Regions from separate parts of the Homo sapiens genome. Here all the other regions are linked to region 5. Evidence: promoter capture Hi-C in human tissues and cell types (Jung and others, 2019). All regions are on one chromosome and are shown on one strand. The core of a region is centred on a gene start or on the middle of the fragment in contact, and the rest is flanking DNA. Distances in the headings are between cores, read along the strand shown.

Region 1 (2,700 bases), core at 140-2,639, 400 kb after region 5:
AGTTTGAGACCAGCCCAAGCAACATGATGAAACACCATCTCTATGAAAAATACAATTAGCCAGTCATGGTGGCACATGCCTGTAGTCCCAGCTACTTGGGTGGCTGAGGCAGGAGGATCGCTTGAGACTGGGAGATCGAGGCTGTAGTGAGCTGATATCATGCCACTGTACTCCAGCCTAGGTGAGAAAGTGAGACCCTGTCTCAAAATAATAATAATAACAATAATGCCACCATTGCTCAGGATATTTTAGGAACTCCTGTGAGGACTCAGGAGAAAATGGAGAATATCTGATTCAGGAGAATGCCACAGAAAGTCAATTAGAATGGGGCCTGATGGATAAATGAATAATGTGATCAAAATCTTTGTGTTTAAAAAATATTTGATGATAAATATGTGACAGATTGCTTTTCACCTGCTCTGAAAGAAAAATTCTAAAATTTGTGTAAGCAAAGATACCATCTCTGAAGATACCTATTTGAAAGCAAAACACTCATTTAAATACAGCAGCTTTGATGAAACCTTATTTCCAAGACTCCCTTTTATTAGCTTATGTCACAGTTTAGGTTTATTTACCTTCTGAATCTGTACAGGATGTTCTCTTGGGCATCTAGGTGAAATTAAAAAAAAAAAAAGAAACAGAAAATATGGTCCCTAGATGGTAAGAACTTCCATCCAGTGGGAGAGATGGGATCCAGAAAAGAAAAAGAAAAAAGGAAAGGAAGGATAAAGATATGCATGCAAAGAAATATACCTACATACAAATATGGGTGTATTACTGATTCATGCACAGATGTATGTACACACATCAGTGATAAGCCATACATTCTTTTTGCTATTCCTGGGAGAGTATAATCACGGCATTTGGTTGGCCTGCCTTATTAGTCCACTGCAACCTAGGTTTCTGTGAATTACAGTGTTGTCAAAATAAGGCTGAATGGAGTATTGTGACTGGCCTATTAAATCTGTTTACCAAAAATGTGTTGGCCGCATCCAAAACTGTTAATAATTCTTGTCATGTAGAATTTACTAATTGCCAACATCTTAATGCTTTTTCAGAGGACTGCAATTACAGATTTGGCTGAGGAGTTCTTCTTAATGTGTTCACGTTTATGGGAAGCGTAGTAACCTGTCTTAACTGGAGAACAAGAGACCAAAAAGTTGGCATGATGTAAGAAGCACTTGGGTCTGTGATTCCATATGTAGGCCATTGCATAGTCAATGGACCACACATGGACAGTTTCTAGCTTCCACTTGACAGAGCTGAGCAGAAAGGCTGGGCCAATGCCCTCATTCAGAAGATGTCATTGGAAGTGCTTTTAGTTAAATCAGTATCAAAATATTCATCAAATGGGTCTTCCTTTCTTCTATCTGCTCTCTTACTAATAACCTCCTAATGAACTTTGCTGGAGTATGATGAAATGTCTTTGACATTCTAACTATGCCCAGATACTTTTTTTAAAGAGAGGTGACATAGTGATTCTTGGCAGGCAGTATTTATTATCTAGATTTTGTCTGGAGACCAACATCATTTGAAGCAGGATAGTGCTCCAGCCATCATTTGGTCTGCACTGTGTCATTTTCATCTGCATTTGTCATTTTCATCACCCTGGATGGTCTAAAACTGTAAAGTTACTTATCCAAAAGGCCCAAGAACTGACAGCCTTCTAGACTCCTGTAAAATGGCCTTCTCTGGGCTGAACTAAGTGAGAAGAAAGAGGAAGTACATTCATGAGCTCCTTTCCTTATCAAAGCACTCCACCAACTCAAGCAGTGAGGAGAGAGTGGGCTCAGCCGTGCCAGGTTGGTACACTCATCCCTGTCCCAGCAGGGATCAGAAAGGGGAGCTCTCTCCCCTGCTGCCCCAGACAGGCTTTCCTGCCCCCTGTGACCAGCCCCTTTTCTCTAAGCTTATGTTCTAGATACCTGACTCTCACCTCCAATCTCAGGTTTTACCAAGAATCTTATCCTGGTTTTGCCCATCCTACTTTGTGGACTTAAAGGGTAAAGAAGGGAACTCTATTGTAAACAGAGACCAGGTATCAAAGTTACTGTGACTCCCTTACTTCCCAGATACACCATTTCAGGGACATGCCTTGTGAGAGGCAGCCAGTCTAGTAGTGAAGGGCACAGCCCCTAGAGCATGGCTTCCTGGGTTCAAATGTGTATGTGTGGCAAACAGGACACTCCAGAAGCCAGGATGTGTGTGTTTGTTTATACAGTTTTCCTTTCCAAAGGCATTTCAGGCAGTTTACAATAAAAGGGCTCTAGACATTGAAGTGGTGAACTAGAAGTTGTAGCCACACGTGGGAGCAGAGAGCAACATGATAAACATGAGAATAATAGGGTTATTTTGATGAAGCTTTCAGTTTAACCCAGTGCATCCAGACAACCAGGGCAATAAGGGCAGCCCAGTGGGTTCCATAATTCTTTCTTTTTGATAGATGGAAGGGTACCTCTTCTTCAAGAGACACCCCTGGTACCCCCAATGAGAGCTTTAAAATAAATTGCCAAAATTATATGAGATTTTTAATCATGGCTCCAATGGTTTAGTCAGATACTTTGTAAAAACCTATGCCATCTTTTTCCTTGGAGGGATGGATGGATGGATGGATGGATGGATGGATGGATGGATGGATACATGGATAACCACCATGTACTTAATAAATGTTTGACTAGTGCATCCTTGGCAGAAAGGGAA
Region 2 (2,700 bases), core at 142-2,641, 470 kb before region 5:
TTTCTTTCTTTCTTTTTTTGAGATGGAGTTTTCACTCTTGCTGCCCAGGCTGGAATGTGGTGGCATGATCTTGGCTCACTGCAACCTCCACCTCCTGGGTTCAAGCAATTCTCCTGCCTCAGCCTCCCAAGTAGCTGGGATTACAGATGCCATGCACTGCTCCTGGCTAATTTTTGTATTTCTAGTAGAGACGAGGTTTCACCATATTGGCCAGGCTGGTCTTGAACTCCTGACCTCAGGTGATCCACGTACCTCAGCCTCCCAAAGTGCTGGGCTTACAGGTGTAAGCCACTGCAGCCAGCCATCTAGCCTCCCCCTATTTTTTCTTCACAGAACATGAAACTTCTCAACCTACTAAAAATGAGCTTTCCTAATAACTCATGACCTACCAGTCTAGGAAGAAACCATCCTAGCTGTGAGAGATCAGATGAAACCTCAGACCAGAGACTCATTTTCTTCTAAAATGCTTTCTCCAAAAGAGTATATTTATTTATTTATTTTTAATTGTATTTTTTTATGTTCCAGGGTACACGTGCAAGATGTGCAGGTTTGACACATAGGTAAACATGTGCCATGGTGGTTTGCTGCACCTATCAATCCATCACCTAGGTATTAAGCCCAGTATGAATTAGCTATTTTCTCTAATACTGTCCCCACCACCACTCTCCCCCGACAGGCCCCAGTGTGTGTTGTTCCCCTCCCTGTGCGCATGTGTTCTCATTGTTCAGCTCCCACTAATAAGTGAAAGCATATATTGTCCAAAAGATTTTAAAAAAGAAAAGGGGGGAAATGCAAAAGGAAGATAAATTTTGGGGCCCTCAAATACCTAAGCTAAAGGGAAAAATCAAGCTGGGAACTGTTCAGGGCAAACCTGCCTCCCATTCTATTCAAAGTTGTCCCTCTGCTCACTGAGATAAGGTCATATCTGATTGCCTCGTTTGGAAAGGCTAATCAGAAACTCAAAAGAATGCAACCATTTGTCTCTCCCCTACCTGTAACCTGGAAGCCCCCTTCCTACTCGAGTTGTCCTACCTTTCTGGGTGGAACCAATGTATATCTTACATACATGGATTGATGTCTCATGACTCCCTAAGATGTATAAAACCAAGCTGTGCTCCAACCACCTTGGGCACATATCATCAGGACTTCCTGAGACTGTGTCACAGACGTGCATCCTCAAACTAGGCAAAATAAACTTTCTAAATTAACTGAGACATGTCTCAAATATTCAGGGTTCTCACAATTCTCTATAAATAAAATTATGAAGTTATCTCAATCCCAATAAAAATACAGAAGGTTTTTCTTTGTTTGTTTGTTTTTGAGATGGAGTTTCACTCTTGTTGCCCAGGCTGGAGTGCAATGGCACGATCTCAGCTCACTGCAACCTCCACCTCCCAGCTTCAAGTGATTCTCCTGCCTCAGCCTCCCAAGTAGCCGGGATTACAGGCATGCGCCACTGTGCCTGGCTAATTTTGTATTTTTAGTAGAGACAGGGTTTCTCCATGTCAGGCTGGTCTCGAACTCCTGACCTCAAGTGATTCGCCCGCCTTGGCCTCCCAAAGTGCTGGGATTACAGGCGTGAGCCACTGTTCCTGGCCAGATTTTTGTTTTAGAGCTTGGCAAGTTAATACTGAAGTTTATGTGGAAAAATAAATGTGCAAGAATAGCCAGAGAATACTAAAAGAAAAAATAATAACGATAGTGGTGGTAGAGGGTTCTACCAGACATTAAGACATCTAATCGAGCTTCTATAATAAAAACAATGAGGTATAGTGCATAGACAGACCAATAAAATAGAATAGAAAGTCCAGAAATAGAATCAAATGCATATGAAAATGTAGTGAATAATAGAGGTGGCATCTTAAATCACTGGAGCAAAGACGGAACTCTGACTCAGTACTCTCGAACAAATTGCTTTGCCCTGATTTGCCTTAATCTGTAAACTGAGAATGACAGCACTGTTTAATGGGAAGAGAAAAATGCCTCTATTATCACATCAGTCTACCAAGTTTGACTAGAGCCTTTAATCTCTCTGAACCTCCCTCCCATCAACTGTGAATGGGGAATAATAATATTAAATCCAATTCCTGTCTGGGGAACTTGCTAATATTCAATGAGCAAACATTGCTGAGAGCCATTTGGGGAATGAGAAAAGCTGTAGAAAAATGGGATATTATTAAGCAGGCTCAACACTCACCACAAATCAGAATGGAGCTTGATATAGTTCGACAGTGTCCCCACCCAAATCTCATCTTGAATTGTAGTTTCCATAATCCCCATGTGTCATGGGAAAGACCCGGTGGGAGGTAATTGAATCATGGAGGTGGCTATCTCCATGCTGTCGTCATGATAGTGAGTGAGTTCTCATGAGATCTAATGGTTTTATAAGGTGCTTTTCCCCCTTTGCTCAGCACTTCTTCCTGCCGCCCTGTGAAGTTGCCTTGCTTCCCCTTCCCCTTCCACCATGATTGTAAGTTTCCTGAGGCCTCCCCAGCCATGCTGAACTGTGAGTCAATTAAACTTCTTTCCTTTATAAATTAGCCAGCCTCAGGTGTATCTTTATTAGCAGTGAGAGAACGGACTAATACAGAGCTTAAGGGCACTTTTTCTATTATAGGGCTTAGTGCCATCACCCATGCTATTCAGGTTGGAGTTTGCTAGGGTAGTAGGAAATAGTGGAGACAAATTTCAAGTGAATGT
Region 3 (2,700 bases), core at 129-2,628, 340 kb after region 5:
AAATTGACTTTTTGCAGCGGATGAGTTCTCTGTTGCAGTCATTAAGTTCCCAGAGAGCTATAAAGAAGTGCTATTCGCTGTGCCAGTCTGTGAACTATTGTGGTTTGCAACAAGATAAGGATCATGCACCAGAAAGCAAATCAACTATGTTACTAAGCAACTATGTTGCTAAGCATACTAAGCTGACATGCTTTTCCTAACAAGACTTTCTCAATGAAAAAAGTAGTATGTTGATTTACATTCTCGTGCTCGATCTGCCAACCACACTGTGTAGCACCTGTGTGATTAGGCAACGTAAAGTTTCCTTCCATTCTTGAAACTCTCTGATTCTAAAACCCACGACTCTTGGCAGAAACTTATATGAGCCCCTGTTTGTTTTACATCTGATATGTGACTGTAGAAAGCCGGCTTGCTTGCAGAGAATTGGGTTTAGACTTTTAGGGCTCTTGGCTCAGCTTGCTCTGGTAACCTTCCTGATACGGCCATCTCCTGCCTCTTCCCTTTCCAGTGGTGTATGGCAGGCAAGTGCATCACAGTGGGGAAGAAACCAGAGAGCATTCCTGGAGGCTGGGGCCGCTGGTCACCCTGGTCCCACTGTTCCAGGACCTGTGGGGCTGGAGTCCAGAGCGCAGAGAGGCTCTGCAACAACCCCGAGTGAGTCCAGATAAATATATTTCCCTTCTCTCCACATGTGCTGGGGGCGGGATGGGGGGCAGTCTTGAATGGCATGACCTCAGTGACCCCAAGCCTCCTCCAGGTAAATTAAATGGGTTCCCAGGACAAAACAGAACAAGAAGATTCACAGAGAGTGGGGAAAAAAAGTGGTTCTGTTTTGTGTTGTTTCATTTCGGCTTGGCACTGGATTCTCACTAAAACTTGGATAAGTAAGCTGATTTTATCATTTGGGGAAATAAAGCAAATTTCTTTTAAATGTGCAATCTATGTGAAAGCCTCTAGGAGATTATACAATTAAATCTTTTTAAATAACTCAATTTTATCAGTAGAGATTAGTGAAACGCAATTTTGCTGATAAGATTGTAGCTTGCTTTCAATGATAATGAATACACAATTTTATGAGAATAATTCTTTCCTTAAGCAACTAGTAAAACAGGTACATTTTTGAGGACAATTATTTTTAATATTTTTCGATAAGGATTTTTATAAACCCTAAAGTTCCGCAGTGGCCTGTTAAGGATTCTGCAAATGTTATTTTACAAGTGACTTTCAATTGTTTAAGCAAATTGCTTAATTTTTCATATATTCTATTTGTATGATAATATTATATATGAGGTAAATTTAAACTTGCTTGTTTTCCAAATACACATTACATTCTTAATTTCATTATTTTCTGATATACTGTCTCCCAAGTAATTTCTTAAAAGTGTATATGTGATATCTCCTTTAAGTGGAAATTATATTGTTTCTTTTATCTAAATTTACATTCATCTACTTTGAAAAGTAGGAGTCACATTTTTTAAAAGGCGAGCAATAAAAGTGATTTTATCTCTCAATATCTCAATTCCAAAGGTTATTTATCCTTTTTGTTAATAACTGTATTACCTAGATGTATAGTATTTAAATATAAGTATATGTATATATGAATATATATGCATGTATACATTACATATATACATATATACACTATATATATTATATATTTTTTCTAAGGGTTAATAAGTTAGTATGTGTAAGGAATTTAACACAGTATCTACTACATAATAAAGTGTTAATAAATAGTAGTTATTATGAATCTTTATCATTTACCACATTTATAAGCATGCATTTGGAAATTCTTCACAAAATTATTTTAAAATTTCACCCTTTGATGAAAGTTGTTTTATTTAAGTACTGGGTTTCTGTGACTTTCAAAATTCAAAACCAAGAGTTTCTCATAGAGTATTTTGTTTTTAGAGAAAATTGTCATTTAATCGTTTGTTTCCATTTGATCCAGAAATGTGATTTCCATTTTCATTTGAGAGATCAGAAAAGAAAGGCAATTTGCTCTGGGACTTATTGTCAATGCTGTATATTCAGACACCACCAGTGTGAAAGTTCTTGGCAGGTTGGTCAGTGACTTGTGGCTATCAGAGAAGGGAACTCCTAGTTGAGGAGGTGAAGGATGAATCTCTAACCTGGCTTCAGGAGAAAGGTAGTTCTAATTCTCATCTCCAAGGCCACAGTTTGTCATAGAGTCTCTTTGGGTGAGTGGACATGCCTGTTCTTCATTGCCGGTTTGCTTAAATTCATTGCTAACACTGCCAATGGCACCGCATCATAGATTTGGATCTGTGGTTCAAGTCACAGATTCAGGCCAGTGCATGAGCCAGCTGATCTTGGGACTGCATCCTTGCTGTAGGTCAACTGTCTAGTGAGAACCCAGCAGAGCTCGGCTCATAAGAGGCTGTCAGTGATATTGATTGGATGGAAATGAATTGGAGACATACCAGGTCATAGAGTGTCCCTGCATCAGCACAAATAGAAAACCAGCCTCACCTTAAATAACAAGGACAATTCTTGGTACCTCCTAAAGGGAATCAACAAATTAAGAGCCTACTATGTGAACTGCCTTGGTCAAAACTCTTTCATGAGTGAGGAACAGAAGCTTACTCAGGCCACATTGAGGGAGGGGAGGTATAGAAAATCTCATGGGCATTCAAGGAGAACAAAGTACAGCAGAATCAACAAGAATTACAGCTGCAA
Region 4 (2,700 bases), core at 50-2,549, 500 kb after region 5:
CCACCTGAGTAGCTGGGATTACAGGCACGCGCCACCACGCCCAGCTAATTTTTTTTTTGCATTTTTAGTAGAGACAGAGTTTTGCCATGTTGGCCAGGCTGGTCTCGAACTCCTGGCCTCAAGTGATCCACCCACCTTGGCCTCCCAAAGTGCTGGCAATTACAGGAGTGAGCCACTGGGCCCAGCCACACCTCCTGTTTTTAACCCACACTGCTTTTGATGAGACAATTCAGGAAATCCATACATTTACCTCTTTGTCTGCTTTATCATAAGGGGGATATTTCCCAAGTCCTGAAGTTTTTATTTAAGTCATGAGAATAAAATAGCATTGAAAATATTTTATTATCTTCCCATTAAACATGTTACTTAAAAGAAAAAACTTTCTAGAAATAAAGACTTATTAAGAGTCAAGTCGCCCTTCTAAATGACATATGCAGGAGGCTGGAGAGCTAGGTCAAGGATCTCTTTCAATTGCATTTGATCAATTACTTTCTTTGTTCTGCTAGCTGCAAGTAATTGTCCATACTAGCCATTTGGTTAGAATGTCTTTACAGAACAAATGGCACTCTTTCATATATTCTTTTCCTTATGTTCTATTTGAAGACTATAATCAATTCTAAGCAACAACGACCTTTGTAAATTCAGGCCTCCTCTCAACCCCTGAGCTAGGCCTGGGACCCCACTTCTGATTCTTTGAATTTGCTGGTAACTTCCATTAGTCCTGAATGACATAAACCACTACAGCCCACCTCAATTCTATCCCATGCCCTAATCTACTTCATCTCTTTTGCCCCAGACTAGTTTTCACAGCTTCCTGTTCATTTGTTCATTCCACCCTGGGTCTCTAGGAGACGAAAGAAATCTACCTGATCTTACCTCTTTCCCTCTTTCCCTCTACAACATGCTATGAACAGGGGCCTTGGAGTCCCAAAACCTGAGTGCAAAATTTTAACACTTATTAGTTACTTCACTAGTATAATAATAATACTGTCCTTGTAGAGTTATTGTGAGGGTTAAATTAGTTAATACATCTAAAGCATGTAAAATAGTGCTATTCAAAGGATATTCTTTGAACCTACACAGTCCAAAAATTGCTTGCTACTAGCCTGCAACTAGATAGGTATAAAAGTACAGAACATTTACAAATGAACTAATCCAATCTTCACTGGATCGATAAATTTATAAATCAAGAAAAAAGTTCATTGGGTGTATTAAAATCTTTAAATGTTGATATATACAGCATTTATTCAAAGTGTACATAAAGGGCTAGGCATCGTGGCTCACACCTGTAATTCCAGCATTTTGAGAAGCCGAGGTGGGAGGATTACTTGAGGTCAGGAGTTCGAGACCAGGCTGGCCAACATGGTGAAACCCTGTCTCTACTAAAAATACAAAAAATTAGCTGGACATGCTGGCACATGCCTGTAGTCCCAGCTACTCAGGAGGCTGAGGCAGGAGAATTGCTTGAACCTAGGAGGCGGAGGTTGCAGTGAGCTGAGATTGTGCCACTGTACTCCAGCCTGGGCGACAGAGTGAGACTCTGTCTCAAAACAAAAAAACAAAAACAAAAAAACAAAATATACATAAAGGCCCTTAAAGCGGGGAATCATTATTTCACTCACAACTTTTTGAGAAGTTATGATTGTTAAATAATATGTAGAAGTTATTAGTATAATTTTCTATGTTAAACACTTTATATCCACATCCACTTTCAATGGACAACAAATACAAGTTTTGTAGTTGTTTTTCTTTTTTTTATGTCATTTTCTAGGAATTAAGTTTTTTATTTTTTTATTTGTTAAATATTTATTGAAGTGTTTGTAGTAATTTATAACCAATAACTAATTTGTACAGTGATTTCAATTTTAAGGTTTTTTTTAAAATTTTCATTTGTCACTGTAAAAGCTCATAGGAAGTAACTTTTAAAGTACTTTGCAGAAATATTGATCTGTGGCAAATTGGAAATTCAAGAAAAAAGGTAATCATTTACCACAGAGAGTTTGAGAAGCACTGACTTATTACAGAGCTCTGCCTGGCACATCATAATATGAAACACATTAAAAAGTGCAGCCAAATAGGAAGTGTTCAGTGAATACTCACTATTACTACTTTCATTTGATAGATGAAGAACCTTAGGCAGAGAGGAGTTCAGGAACTTACCCATGTCCTGTGTCCATGATCCTGGTCCACTGAGGCACACTGCGTCGGACCTAGAAGTACCTGCCTGCCTACCCTGGATAAACTGATAGAAGGAGTTTTCCTTATTGAGACAGGGGACCCTGCAGAAAATCCGGGACAAAAAACAGAAGCAAAACACATATCGCAGAGTGTCCCCAAGGTGCTGATGTTGCCATCAAGAGCCGGATGAAATGGAATTGCCCAGAAAGCACCTGCAGGTGCATTGCCCAAGCAATAGTCACAACCCTAAGTAATAACCACCCAGAAGTTGGCAGTGGAGGCCAATGAGGCACCTAGCAACCCAGCAGCAAAGAAACATTATCCAGAAGCCAGGAGATCTACTGGGGACCCCGGCTTCCGCACAAAGCCATAAGGTCAAATAAGCTATACCCTTTCCAAATTCTACACAATCTTAGAGAAACAACAAAAGATAAGCTGTTTGAGGGACTGAGCACTTTTGGCTAACAGAAATTGAACCCCACTAAAAGGGAATAAACTTAGGTTGAATTAGAGATGTAATTG
Region 5 (2,700 bases), core at 52-2,551:
GTGTGTGAGAGAAGCCATGTGTGTGATCGTGTAAAATAACGTGTGTGAGAAGCCGTGTGTGATGTGTAATAACACGTGTGTGAGAGAGAAGCTATGTGTGCAATCATGTGTAATAGCATGTGTGTGTGAGAGAAGCCATGAGTCCGATCATGTGTAATAACGAGAAAAGCCCCATGTGTGATCATGTGTAATAGTGTGTGTGAGAGAAAAGCCATGTGTGTGGTCATGTGTAATAATGTGTATGAGAGAGAAGCCGTGTGTGATCGTTGTGTAATAACGTGTGTGAGAGAGAAACCATGTGTGATCATGTGCAATAGCATGTGTGTGTGAGAGAAGCCATGTGTGATCATGTGCAATAGTGTGTGAGAGAGAAGCTGTCATGTGTAATAATGTGTGAGAGAAGCCATGTATGATCATGTGTAATAACGTGAGAGAAGCCATGTGTGACCATGTGTAATAACGTGTGTGAGAGAAGCCATGTGTGTGGTCATGTGTAATAAAATGCATGAGAAGCCATGTGTGATCATGTGTAATAGCATGTGAGAGAGAAGCCATGTATGATCATGTGTAATAACGCATGTGAGAGAAGCCATGTGTGACCATGTGTAATGTGTGTGAGAGAAGCCATGTGTGATCATGTGTAATAGCATGTGTGTGAGAAGCCATGTGTATGATCATGTGTAATAACATGCATGAGAGAAGCCGTGTGTGATCATGTGTAATAGCATGTATGTGAGAAACCATGTGTGATCATGTGTAATGTGTGTGAGAGAAGCCATGTGTGTGATCATGTGTAATAGCATGTGTGTGAGAAGCCGTGTGTGATCATGTGTAATAGCATGTGTGTGTGAGAAGCCAGGTGTGATCACGTTTAATAGCGTGTGTGTGAGAGAAGCCATGTGTGTGATCATGTGTAATAATGTGTGTGTGAGAGAAGCCACGTGTGTGATCATGTGTAATAGCATGTGTGTGTGAGAGAGAAACCATGTGTGTGATCATGTGTAATACTGTCTGAGAGAGCCCATGTGTGTGATCACGTGTAATAACGTGTGTGTGAGAGGGAGAGAAGCCATGTGTGTGATCACGTGTAATTGTGTGTGTGTGTGAGAGAGAGAGAAAGAGAGAGGGAACAGTACAAAGGAGGATCCCTTTAGAAAAGTATTCCAACGTCTTATGGAGCCAGAGGGCTGATTCACAGCTGCTAATCTCTGTCATGCTTTCCAGCACCACCCCCTCCCTCTCATCATAACTTGTGATCTTAGAGGCAGGAAAGAATTTGAGCCCCTCCCCCAGCCTGACCATCTCTGTTGGTTGCTCGGCCAGGCTCCACGTCAAATCCAGTTTGAAACACAGACCCTAGGACCACGCAGGAGGTGGTGGGCTCGCAGGAAGGTTCCTCTCCCAGTGGCCATGGGTAGCAACAGTGGGCAGGCTGGCCGCCACATCTATAAATCCCTAGCTGATGATGGCCCCTTTGACTCTGTGGAGCCGCCTAAAAGACCCACCAGCAGACTCATCATGCACAGCATGGCCATGTTCGGAAGAGAGTTCTGCTACGCGGTGGAGGCAGCGTATGTGACCCCAGTCCTGCTCAGCGTAGGTCTGCCCAGCAGCCTGTACAGCATTGTGTGGTTCCTCAGCCCCATCCTGGGATTCCTGCTGCAGCCCGTGGTCGGATCGGCCAGCGACCACTGCCGGTCCAGGTGGGGCCGCCGGAGACCCTACATCCTCACCCTGGGAGTCATGATGCTCGTGGGCATGGCTCTGTACCTCAATGGGGCTACTGTTGTAGCAGGTAAGTGGGCTGCACAAGGTGGGCAGACAGGGATATGTGTCTTAGTGTGTACCTCTGCAGGAGGAGGATGTTCATGTGTTTGACCTTTCCTAGAAATTTGTTAGAATTGATCTCTCCTAGGTTACAATGAACTTCCCCTTTGACAAATTTGGCCCAGATTCTGTGGTTGGGGAGCCTCTACTTCTAGAAATATCAAAATAAATATGTTTCATTGTTGTGAAGATTTAAAAATAGGATTAAATTTGTATCTATTTTATTAAATTTGTATCTATTTTATCGAATTGAATATTTTTACATATTTATCAATTGAGTTACTTTTTGAGCCCATTATGCTCTATTTAATACTCTTATCAAATTGACTGGCTGCCAAATAGCTCCATAAATATTTACAATAAGTCACCTGTGTATCCAAATAAGTTAATTCTGTTCATAGTTTTATGTAGAGCGTTTTAATAGGCGTAGGGCATAAGCCCATCAGCTCAAGAGGACCTTTCTGGCATTGCAAATTCTGGACAAAAGCAAACCTGAGGGTAGGCATTTTTTCTAGCCATTAATCAGCTACCAATTAATCAGTAATTGATGGTAGTACAATAAAGTTGCATTGCAAAAAGGATCGCTAAAAATAGCACACATTTGTAGATCATTAACTCTCAAGCTAGCAGAATCGGTGATTATGAGGCAGGATAATCAATTATCATTTGTACATATTTGAAAGAAAGCGTAAATGTACAAATGTAGGATATTTCCAGGAGAATGAACAAAAAGCTGATAAGCATTGTTGACTCTAAGGAGGATTACTGAAGGACAGGAGGTGAGAAGTGGCGGGTAGACTTATTGTTCATTTAATTTTATACTGCAATTTTTAAAACGTGTATATAATCTATGCTATTCTTAAGTTTAAAAAG

The links. The method cuts DNA at HindIII sites, captures the fragments that hold promoters and counts their contacts. A contact is called where the count stands out against the background at its distance.
Region 1: a fragment that was not itself captured here is called in contact with the fragment with the promoter of SLC45A2 in region 5 in 1 of the 25 tissues and cell types used here (lymphoblastoid cells).
Region 2: a fragment that was not itself captured here is called in contact with the fragment with the promoter of SLC45A2 in region 5 in 1 of the 25 tissues and cell types used here (IMR-90 fibroblasts).
Region 3: a fragment that was not itself captured here is called in contact with the fragment with the promoter of SLC45A2 in region 5 in 2 of the 25 tissues and cell types used here (IMR-90 fibroblasts and lymphoblastoid cells).
Region 4: a contact is called between a fragment that was not itself captured here and the fragment with the promoter of SLC45A2 in region 5, in 1 of the 25 tissues and cell types used here (aorta).

Annotation. Positions count from the first base shown.
Region 1 is chr5:33,584,977-33,587,676 of GRCh38, reverse strand. All of the region lies in intron 18 of ADAMTS12 (ADAM metallopeptidase with thrombospondin type 1 motif 12), which reads left to right. Among named protein-coding and RNA genes, the nearest start is that of TARS1, 150 kb to the right of the region's middle. The HindIII fragment of the contact is 4,295 bases long and covers 1-2,700 here.
Region 2 is chr5:34,454,499-34,457,198 of GRCh38, reverse strand. No RefSeq gene overlaps it. Among named protein-coding and RNA genes, the nearest start is that of RAI14-DT, 200 kb to the left of the region's middle. The HindIII fragment of the contact is 4,681 bases long and covers 1-2,700 here.
Region 3 is chr5:33,639,764-33,642,463 of GRCh38, reverse strand. It overlaps ADAMTS12 (ADAM metallopeptidase with thrombospondin type 1 motif 12), which reads left to right. Exons shown (of 24, transcript NM_030955.4): 11 at 509-654. Among named protein-coding and RNA genes, the nearest start is that of TARS1, 200 kb to the right of the region's middle. The HindIII fragment of the contact is 4,544 bases long and covers 1-2,700 here.
Region 4 is chr5:33,482,879-33,485,578 of GRCh38, reverse strand. No RefSeq gene overlaps it. Among named protein-coding and RNA genes, the nearest start is that of TARS1, 43 kb to the right of the region's middle. RefSeq lists an enhancer at 2,660-2,700. The HindIII fragment of the contact is 4,033 bases long and covers 1-2,700 here.
Region 5 is chr5:33,983,294-33,985,993 of GRCh38, reverse strand. SLC45A2 (solute carrier family 45 member 2) reads left to right here and starts at 1,301. Exons shown (of 7, transcript NM_016180.5): 1 at 1,301-1,795. The coding sequence starts at 1,411. The HindIII fragment of the contact is 13,392 bases long and covers 1-2,700 here.